3 separate regions of the Homo sapiens genome follow, and all the other regions are linked to region 3. Evidence: promoter capture Hi-C in human tissues and cell types (Jung and others, 2019). All regions are on one chromosome and are shown on one strand. Each heading gives the region's core, a stretch centred on a gene start or on the middle of the fragment in contact. The rest is flanking DNA. Distances are from core to core; before and after follow the strand shown.

Region 1 (3,224 bases), core at 555-3,054, 160 kb before region 3:
AAGATTTTGTTTTTGACCAAGTCAGCAACTACTTGAAGGTAGTAACTGACCAAAATTACAATTTTAACAAATATTGAATTGTAAAATGACATCTCGTCTTTATAACTAGTATTTTTTCCACATCTGGTGTGTTTGTGAATAATGAGAAATGGCTGCAAACAAAATGTCACAGGATAATTGGGGTGTCGCTTTACCAGCCAGAAACCTCTGTGGCCAGGAGTGTCTTCCGCCTGAGTATTGGTCACACCTGCTGGGCTCATTCCACCCACTTGGCTTGGCAGTCAGCACTCAGCCTGCACTACCGGCCTGGATCACACACCTGCCAAGGGCGAGCCAGGCGTGGAGCAGTGAGGGATGTGTGGGCTAGCGAGTGTGGGGTCCAGCCACAGGGCACAGCCAGGCATGCTGGCTGCTGTGGTAGGGCGGGCAGTTCCAGGTGCTGGCACAGGTGCTGGCTCTGAGTGAGGCTGTGGCTGGACCAGATGTTCTGCATGCGGCTTCTGCTGTGGGCACCTGCATCTGGATGAGGGAAACTCTTTGGCACCTGGAGGCATGGAGACACCAGGAACTGCAGAGCCCCAAAGAGGGTGTCATGGCCCTGGTATAGGGAGCCCCTAAGTATGGGCTCCCCAAAGGGCCACATCGCTTCTCTCCTTCTCCTCGCCCACAACATGGTGAGTGGGAGAGAGTGTTTCAGCCCTGTTTGTGTTACAGTTCTTTCATTCCATCCATTTGGTTGGTCCCAAGTTCTTGTCCTGCGTCCTGGAAGAATGAAGTACGCAGGCAACTGATAGGTGAGCAAGGCAAATAGGAGCTTCAGTGAGCAACAAAACAGCTCTCAGGAGACCCACAGTGGGTAGCTCCTTTCAACAGGCAGGTTGTCCCAAAAAGCTTTCCAGCTCTCAGTGGAGAGGAAACATTTAGCAGGTAGCTCCTTTCCAAAGGCAGGTCATCTCCAGTCGTGGAGACTCAAAGTGGGTAGCTCCTTCCCACAGCTGGTAGTCCCAATGTCTGTCTGAGTCTAGCTGAGTCTGGGTTTTTATGGGCTCTGAAGGGAGGAAATGCATACTGATTGGTCAAGGGGTGGCCATGAGGGGGCCTGGAAAAAGCACCATAAGCTCTCACTCTGTGCCATGGACTCCAAGGAGAACTGGCAGCCTGGCCTCTAGGCTTCAGGCCATCCCTGGCTTGAAGGTAGGGTTTCACCAGGGACCTGCCTTTTTCTGCCCAGGGGCCCGTCTACCTCCTGCTGCCATCAAAATGCCATCCACAGCACCCAGGCTGTTCATGCCTAGATGTGCTTTCAGGCCCACACTGAGCCGCTCTCAGCACCCCCTCAGCCTCCTTCCATGACACCCAGACTGTTCATGCTGAGCAGTGCTTGCACGCTCACCCTGAGCCACCCCTCAGCCTCCTTCCATGACACTCAGGCTGTTCATGCTGAAGGGTGCTTGCAGGCCCACACTGAGCCACCCTCAGCACTCCCTCAGCCTCCTTCCTGTGCTCATCAGTGCCCAAAGTGTGGAGGTGGCCAAGGTGGCACCATCCTGAGTGCACTCACACCTGGGTGTGTTGTGACAGAACCCAGGTTCAGCCACAACTTGGCTCCACCCCAAAGCAGTGGGGAGTGGGAGTGGGGAGAGGCCAGGGAACAGGAGCAGGTAGTTCCAAACCTGCAGGGGCAAGGGGCTTCCTGAGCCCCTGAGAGCACAGGGATGCTGGGGTCTGGAGCTGTGGCTGGGTGGCTGCAGCTATGCCCAAGATCACAGGCTCCTGCCCCACCAACCTGGTAGGGTGTGGGGCTCTCACTTTTTCTTGGCTCTCACTGGACCGTGAAGCACACAGCCCCAGCTGTGCCTCCTCTGCTACAGCTGACACCCTCACAGTGGCCACTCCAGACAGGTCGTCACAGGCATCAAAATGAGTTATATATTTTTTAAATTGTACAACTGGAACAATCAAATTTGGTCAGATATATACATAAATGGACATATGGCATATGTATATGTAAAATAGATTTTGAGAATCCATTGACACAATATTTTGAAAACCAGACATTTTGAAGTGTAGCAAATAAGAACTCTAAAAAATTTTTAATTTGGGATGAGAGAATAAAATCTAAGCAAATTTGACTACTTTGAAAGAATTGAGTGAATGCATTTGACCACAAAATTCAAATTACTGTTGGTAAAAAATTATGCACATTTGAAAGCGGAAGTAGGGTAGGCAGAATAAAGGAAGGAAGATAATTTTGATCTTGAAGTTGAGGGTCAATCTTTATTTTAGAGAGTTCATTGGATTACACTTTATGCATAATATAATTAATACAGTTGAGTGATATTGTTTTTATAGCCATAACATCATTAACATTAATCTAAACTCAATAATAGTGAATCATTGCTATTTTTTAATGACTTAACATTCTCAGGACAATAGGAAACAATTGAGGTACCCTAAGCAAATACTTTCTTCCTCTTTTTTTTTTACTTTATTTATTCATTTTTTTAAGACAGGATCTCACTCTATTACCCAGGCTGGAGTGCAGTGGCCTGTTTAAGGCTCACTGCACTCTCAACTTCCTGAGCTCAAGGGATCTTCCCATCTCAGCCTCCCAAGCAGCTGGGACCTCAGGCACATGTTCAATGATAGACTGGATAAAGAATATGTGGTACATATACACCATGGAATACTATGCAGCCATAAAAGGAACGAGATCATGTCCTTTGCATGGACATGGATGGAGATGGAAGCCATTATTCTCACCAAACTAAAGCAGGAACAGAAAACCGAACACTGCATGTTCTCTCTTGTAAGTAGGAGCTGCACAATGTGAACACATAGACACAGGGAGGGAACAACACACACTGGGGCCTGTGTGGGGGTGGGAGGAGAAAGAACATCAGGAAATCTATGTAATGCATGCAGGACTTACCACCTTGGTGAGGGGTTGATGGGTGCAGCAAACAACCACGGCACATGTTTACCTATGTAACAAATTTGCACATCCTGCACATGTACCCCAGAACTTAAAATAAATAAAATCTAAAAAAATAAATAAAATAAAATTCTAACAATTCTAACTCATTTTTTTCATGGACTCATTGTCACTTCCACTTTTCTAAAATACTTAACCTCCAAGTATAAGGACATGTCCATAGTCAATGTACACTTTACAAGCATTGTTGGAGAATGTGGGAAAGCATTGAGGCAATTTTACTTTTGTT
Region 2 (3,116 bases), core at 114-2,613, 140 kb before region 3:
AGTCTGTTTTTGATAAGATGAAATGATTCTTGTAGGATGTAAATCTATCTTGAGGACTTTTCTCCTCATTACTTTGGTTTCTACCAAAAAAAAAAAAAAAGTGGTATCAGGCAACCCAGATGCTGGAAATTGAAGAAGCAACGCTATAATAATCTCTTTGATTGGAGATGATGGAGGCACAAAAATAGCAAAAAGACTGTGAGCACTAAATGAAGACATGTGAATAAATGCCACAGCCCTAGATCAAAGCACATATCCCAGGATGACTTATTTAAAAGTATGTTTATTAGAGCTGTAAATAAAATTAAAACCTGGAACAAGTTATTTACAATGTCATAATGATAATGGTGCTAAGAAATAATATTTTTAAAATTACTTTAAGATCAATCAACAAATATTTACTGTTAGAGGTATCAAGATGTTTTTAAATTAAAGAAAAAGTTCTGTGCATTGCTTTTGCCTGACACTTAATTAAGAAAAGCATTTAATTGGCTTAAATCTGTAAATTCAGTTCCTGCACATTAGACATATTGCCTTAACCATACTTTGGTTTTGGGCTTTAAAAATCATATTATATATTAAGTGGTAATAATTTTCTTCAAAGTTTTCCCTCTTCAACTTAAATATCTAGCCATAGCAATAATTTTATAGTTAGGAAGTGATAGCTAAATCAATTGAAATAAGTCATTAGTGAATTTCCAGACATATCAGTATGTTGAACTACTTCAAAAATGTCTTACAATTTCCTCTCAATCTTAGTGAACAAACTGCTCTTCTGTAATATGAAATATAAGGATTCCTGGTTCTGAATGATAATTAAAGAAATCTTAATTTAGAAAGGGTAATAACATTTTAATTGCAAAACGTAAATGGTGCAACATGACTTTTAGTTGTATATTCCTTGAATTTGCTACTTAATATTTGAAAACGGATTTTCTTTTCCTTTGTATTATCTTAGGATCTACGGAGTATTTTTCCATCCTTCATATTACTTTTTTATTCCTCCAACATATAATCATAATGTCTTTTCTCTCACTGAGCTCCTGAGTGGCTGCAAGGCACAAACGTGTCTAATGCAAATGCTAGGAAGGCTCTAGTGGACTTCTGAGACCTCAGTCAAGGAATAGTGTTGGAATGCAAGCTTGCCTCACATAAACCTCAAGGCTACAGATTACTCATTTTGAGCGAAAAAGATACTGCTGTTTTATTTTGAAAACAAGATTCATATTACAACTCTACACAGTGCAAATTATTTGAAAGGTATTTTTTCCTAGTCACGTTCATGTATTTATCACTTAGAGATCTACTTCTAAACAAATGCTTTAGATATATTGCCTGCGATTGGATCCACAAAAATTCATCTCCAGGAGTAAAATTTAGCATCTGCTCCAGAAAAACCCTTCTCAGGGCTGGAAATCAGGGGCCAGGGATATTTCGACAGCAACAAGAACAAAAATTGGAATGCTCCACAGATGAAGGCTGTTTTGTTTCTCAATGTTATTTTATTTTCTCTTTCCAAGTAAAAATCATTGGAAAACTATCATCTTTTTTTCTGTGTCGAGCTTTTTTTAATAAAGTAATAGCAACCTACAAATTTACAGAGAAAATAATCTTAAGTATTTTTAGAATGAATTAAGCTTTATGAAAATTTACTGCATTGGTTTTATGTTTATGTTCCATATCTTATCTCTGACAGGTAAAATCTTTGTCTTAAATCCAGCAAGCTTCATAAATTGAAAACTAGGAAAAGCACTAGATTGCAGAGAGCCCTGGGTGTCTATTGTGATACCTTTAAATCTTTAATGGAACTGAAAATTAAACAGAGAGAATAATTTTTAGTTAATGAGTATATCTATAATAATACAAGATATAACTATTTTTATCATATTTGAAGAATATGATTAAGATTCATTTGTTATATATTCAGTGTATTTGGGAAGAAACGATGAAAACTTAGAACATACACAATGGCTTAAGAATGAATATGCGTGCAAAGCAGGAGGTATCTAGGCAGTATGTGAGTGAGCAGTCAAGTGCAGCATGGCTTGGTGAAGAGCGATGGAGTGGGAGCAATGGATTTATCCCAGGAGCCTGTAAATGAGAGGGGTAGTTAATCTGGCATTGTAGAAGTGCTTCTTTGCATCTTGAAGGAAGAGGTGGTGTTAGCTACCACCAAAATGTGCAGTAAAATGAATTCCATAAAGAAGAGACATGAGCGAACACCAAAGCTAATAAAAAAGAGCAAGGTATTTTTGAGAAAAGTAAATGCGGTGTTTCCTGGTTTCACTTAGGAATTAACCGCGACAGGCCCCGGTGTGTGATGTTCCCCATGCTGTGTCCAAGTGTTCTCATTGTTCAATTCCCACCTATGAGTGAGAACATGCAGTGTTTGGTTTTCTGTCCTTGGGATACTTTGCTCAGCCTAGAACTTAAAGTATAATAATGAAAAAATAAAAATTAAAAGAAACTTCTTCTAACTGGAAGGCCTTTAAGGGAACTTGGGAGATGAAATTGAAAGCCTTTAGGTGGTGTACTCAAGCCAAAGACAGGGTTAGCCAGTAACCACGCACTTGATTAGACAAGCTGCAAAGTTGGGTGTTCTTACTTTTAATAATATACGCTTGACCATGAGTCATATTTTTCAAAAAGTAACAATCTCTCTTATTTGTAAAGGTTTTGCAAGCTTAAACATTTAAATGAAGAGAAATACACTAAATTATTTCAAAAGTTCACATTAAAATATTTGAAAGCCATTTGAAAAATATTTGAATATATCATTCTTGTTATATAGGTTTTTTATAAAGTATCTTTAAGAGCAAATAGACTTGCTATGAGTTTATGAATATGTGTGCAAACCCATTTATTATCTGCCTATATAAAATAATTCTGTTATAATAATGGATGGATATTACAAAAAGGTTTCCTTTTACATTTAATGTAAAATAGATATTCTTGCTATCTTCTTTTTCTTCTTCGTATTGATTTATTTTATGATTAAATCCTCAAAAGGGCAATGAATGACAACAAAATTGATTTTTAGTTTCAAAACTGTTAAATAAAACATCTGGCATCATGTTCAGATGCCAGTGTTTTGGGAAATTTCTCCTGTTTTAGAG
Region 3 (3,343 bases), core at 404-2,903:
ATGCCAATGATCACATCTTTTCACTCTGAATTAGTGATCATGGATATTTTTAAAAATATGTGTTTGGTGCAAACTTTGCAAATACACATAAAAATACTGGATTTTCTAATCCCTGAAAGAAACTCTCTTCTTTCACCTCTCAGTCGTGTAAGAGTTAACTCTGTTTCCTACAAGGATGCAATCTGTAAGTTAGGTCTGGAAGGCAGCAAAGGCAACCTGGACTTGAAGTTAACACTTCTGTTGTCAAGGGTTACTGATTGGGGGAAGGGAAGGGGCTGTAAAGGGAAAGAGTTACGGAAATGAAGAGGGATTGTAGCACACACTACATAAATTCAAATGCTTTACATGTATTTGGAATAAGATCTCGAGTCTGTTGTATTTTTGCATTGTGTTTTCATTTATTTAGTTTACACATAGGTAGTGAATTTATAGGTTGGTTGATGTTAACCTTATCCAGAGTGGCCCTTTCCAACAATGTTCATTCAGTTGTACATTACATATATGTAATAATTTTGTAATTAAATTGGAATTTATCACAATTATTTACATCAAAGACAATAAAATTATGTTACTTCCTAAATTATAATATCAGTAAATATCGTATCTAGGATTTTGTGGAAAGTCTATGTCATTTTAGTTTAAATAAGGATTTCTCTTTTCCTCCACAAAATTAAAGGTCAAAGAAAACAGCATGTTTAAGACTTCAAATTAATATATATTAAGATTCAGCATTTAATATTCTAATTCTTAAAATAACTGGCTTTACCGATGATGAACTAAAGTGATTTTGCACACTATTACAATATTTCAAATTGCTAGTCACCACAGGTCGGCCTCACTTTAAATCTCCTTGTTATGCCAATTTGCATTACTAATGAACTTGCTAAGAGAGAAACTGTAAAAAGATAATGTAGCAATTAATAGTAAATGCTTGACATACTGTGACATTATAATACCTTTATGTTGATTTATATCTTTATGTCAATATTTACAAGGAAAATATTTTTGAATTTCTAATTTTGCGAAGTAAAAATGATGCTGACGCCATTGTCATTGATGGAATTTTTTCTGTAGCATTTGACTAATATAACCCGTGTTTTATAATTGGTAGACTCATATTTTAGCTTCTACTATCTACTACCCATGTAAGGTATTTTATTTGTAGTAGCTATGAATTGTAAATACAATTGGGTGTTGTGTGTACCTACGTGAAGTGCAGAAGTATTTGATTATATAAAATTTCCTGGATTTATATGAGAATAATGCATAATAGAGAGCAAAAGAGGGTTTTCCTGCCAAAAGTGTCTGTGTGAATTTTCCTTCGAAAATGTTCTTTTAAAATCCTTTGTATGATCAAAGCCACTCCACACAGACAATTAAAAGCAGCTATGGAATGATAGATCACATGACAGGAGTTAAATGTAAGGGTTTTTTTTTTTTTTTTTCCTCCCCCCTCGGTTAAACATCGCAGCAGGCATTACAATACCAGAGGTAACGAATCAATTAAATCCATTTTCCCCTCGGCGTCTCCAAAGCTGCGTGCCTAGTGTTGCTGTGTAGTTTAGACCGGAGCAGTAGGACCCAGGGGCCTCCGCAGCCACCAATAGAAGCGCACACTTGGACCTATTTGTATGCAATGCCTTCTGCTCTGCGCATTAATAGTAATACAGATAACGGGTTTGAAAGAATTCTCTACTGAAGAAGGATTGAATTTTTCCAGGGTGCTGATACAGAGAAGAAACCCGACTTCACTCTCTCCCTATTTCCCCACTCTTAGGTTTAAAAGTCTGTCACCTTTCGCTTGGTTTAAACTCGGAAAGGTCTCAGTGCACAGCAAAGTTGCAGGGCTGCGTCTGCACTACGGAGCCTCTAGATTGCTGAAAACAGTCTTATGGAAGGGTAAGTCTCGGAAATGGTTGCAAGGGAAGTGACAGCTGGCTTTTGATTTGTAAAAGGGGACACGCTGGGTTTTACACTAGTGGTTGTTGGAGTGCAGAATGGTTGCCGAGAGGACTCTGCAGTTTATCCAGAAATTGTGGCTGATGCGCCAGGGTGTTTTGGGGTAGAATCAAAAACCTTCAGGCTAAATCGGAAATTGCAGCCTTGCGATCGGGAGGGATTCAACAAGTTTTCCTGCAGGGATGCGATGTTTGTTTCTTCCTTGCCAGTTGTGCAGAGTGTCCGTTCCAGGTAGGCTGCGGCTGCTTAACAAAGAAGTTTTGGAATTTGTTTGTTGTGTGTGTGGCTGGGCTAACCCTTGTTGGAGTAGGTTTCGTGCCGCTTTTGGCTTCTTGGGGGCACACAGCGGAATTTGCTCTAGGGATGCGGCGAGCATCAGCGGTGTAGTGGGCTGGGGCCGGGCAACTTTGCAGCCTAATCTCAGTGCCGCTGACCGCACCGTTGTTCGTGATGTGAGCTGACTGAGGCATAGACACGGGCAGGCTGCAGGGAGCTTCCAAACTTTGAAAGCATTCTCCAGGAATGGATGCGCGTGGGGGCTTTGAAAATAAGCGTTACTAGGTGGATTTTGGTAAACTCTTGGCGGTATGTAGGCAGTGGGGACTTTTGACACTTGCATTTCCAACCTGCAGGATTTTGCTTGAAAACATGGTGCTGATGTGAAGACGAGAGCTTAAAGCTAAGCCAGCGGGGACTTTGAGGGAGGAAATGAGGGAGGGAAGGAGGAAGAATGAGAGAAGACAGATGAATGAAAAAGGTGCGTCCCATCTTTCACACACAAAAACCACACGAGTGGGACGAACCAGGAAGCGCTCCAGTTGGTGGCGTTTAGCTGGAAAACGTATTGCAGGGAGGTCCAGGAGCCTCTGCATTATTGATGAAACGCCGTGCCCTTCTGGGGCCCCTTCTTGCTCCTTCTCCCTGCCCCATCTTGCCAGCCCCGCTTCCATGAGCCTTCGGTTCCAGCGTTGGCGCGGGTGCGGCTGCGCGCGCGGCTGGGTCCCACAGCTCTGAGAACACAATGGGGAGAAGCAGGCGAGCCCTGCGGGCGGCCGATGCGGAAAACTCGGCGTGGCAACCCCACTGCTGCAGCCTGGGCTGCCGCTCCACCCGGGGCAGCGGCGCTGCAGAGACGGCTTCTGCCCAGTTGCCACGCGCCCTGAGGTCTCGGAGGACCGCGTGGAGGGCGCTCACACCTGGCCGCTAAAATCCTGGGATACCCTTCTAGGAGTCACTGTGTCCCACGCAGATGGGTGGGGTGGGGGAGACGGAATGCTAAGACATCCCACTCCTGCCTCGAGTCGGAGCTCCCACTACTCAAATATCCTTAGTGTGCACCCCAAGCATCTAGAGGACCTGCGCCCCCAAGAAAAAAGGACACGAA

Evidence for each region. Contacts are between HindIII fragments. The study calls those that stand out against the background at their distance.
Region 1: a contact is called between a fragment that was not itself captured here and the fragment with the promoter of ROBO1 in region 3, in 2 of the 25 tissues and cell types used here (dorsolateral prefrontal cortex and pancreas).
Region 2: a contact is called between a fragment that was not itself captured here and the fragment with the promoter of ROBO1 in region 3, in 2 of the 25 tissues and cell types used here (aorta and hippocampus).

What each region holds. Positions count from the first base shown.
Region 1 is chr3:79,927,502-79,930,725 of GRCh38, reverse strand. No RefSeq gene overlaps it. Among named protein-coding and RNA genes, the nearest start is that of ROBO1, 160 kb to the right of the region's middle. The HindIII fragment of the contact is 4,280 bases long and covers 1-3,224 here.
Region 2 is chr3:79,904,364-79,907,479 of GRCh38, reverse strand. No RefSeq gene overlaps it. Among named protein-coding and RNA genes, the nearest start is that of ROBO1, 140 kb to the right of the region's middle. The HindIII fragment of the contact is 3,244 bases long and covers 1-2,985 here.
Region 3 is chr3:79,766,308-79,769,650 of GRCh38, reverse strand. ROBO1 (roundabout guidance receptor 1) reads left to right here and starts at 1,653. Exons shown (of 31, transcript NM_002941.4): 1 at 1,653-1,899. The HindIII fragment of the contact is 15,501 bases long and covers 1-3,343 here.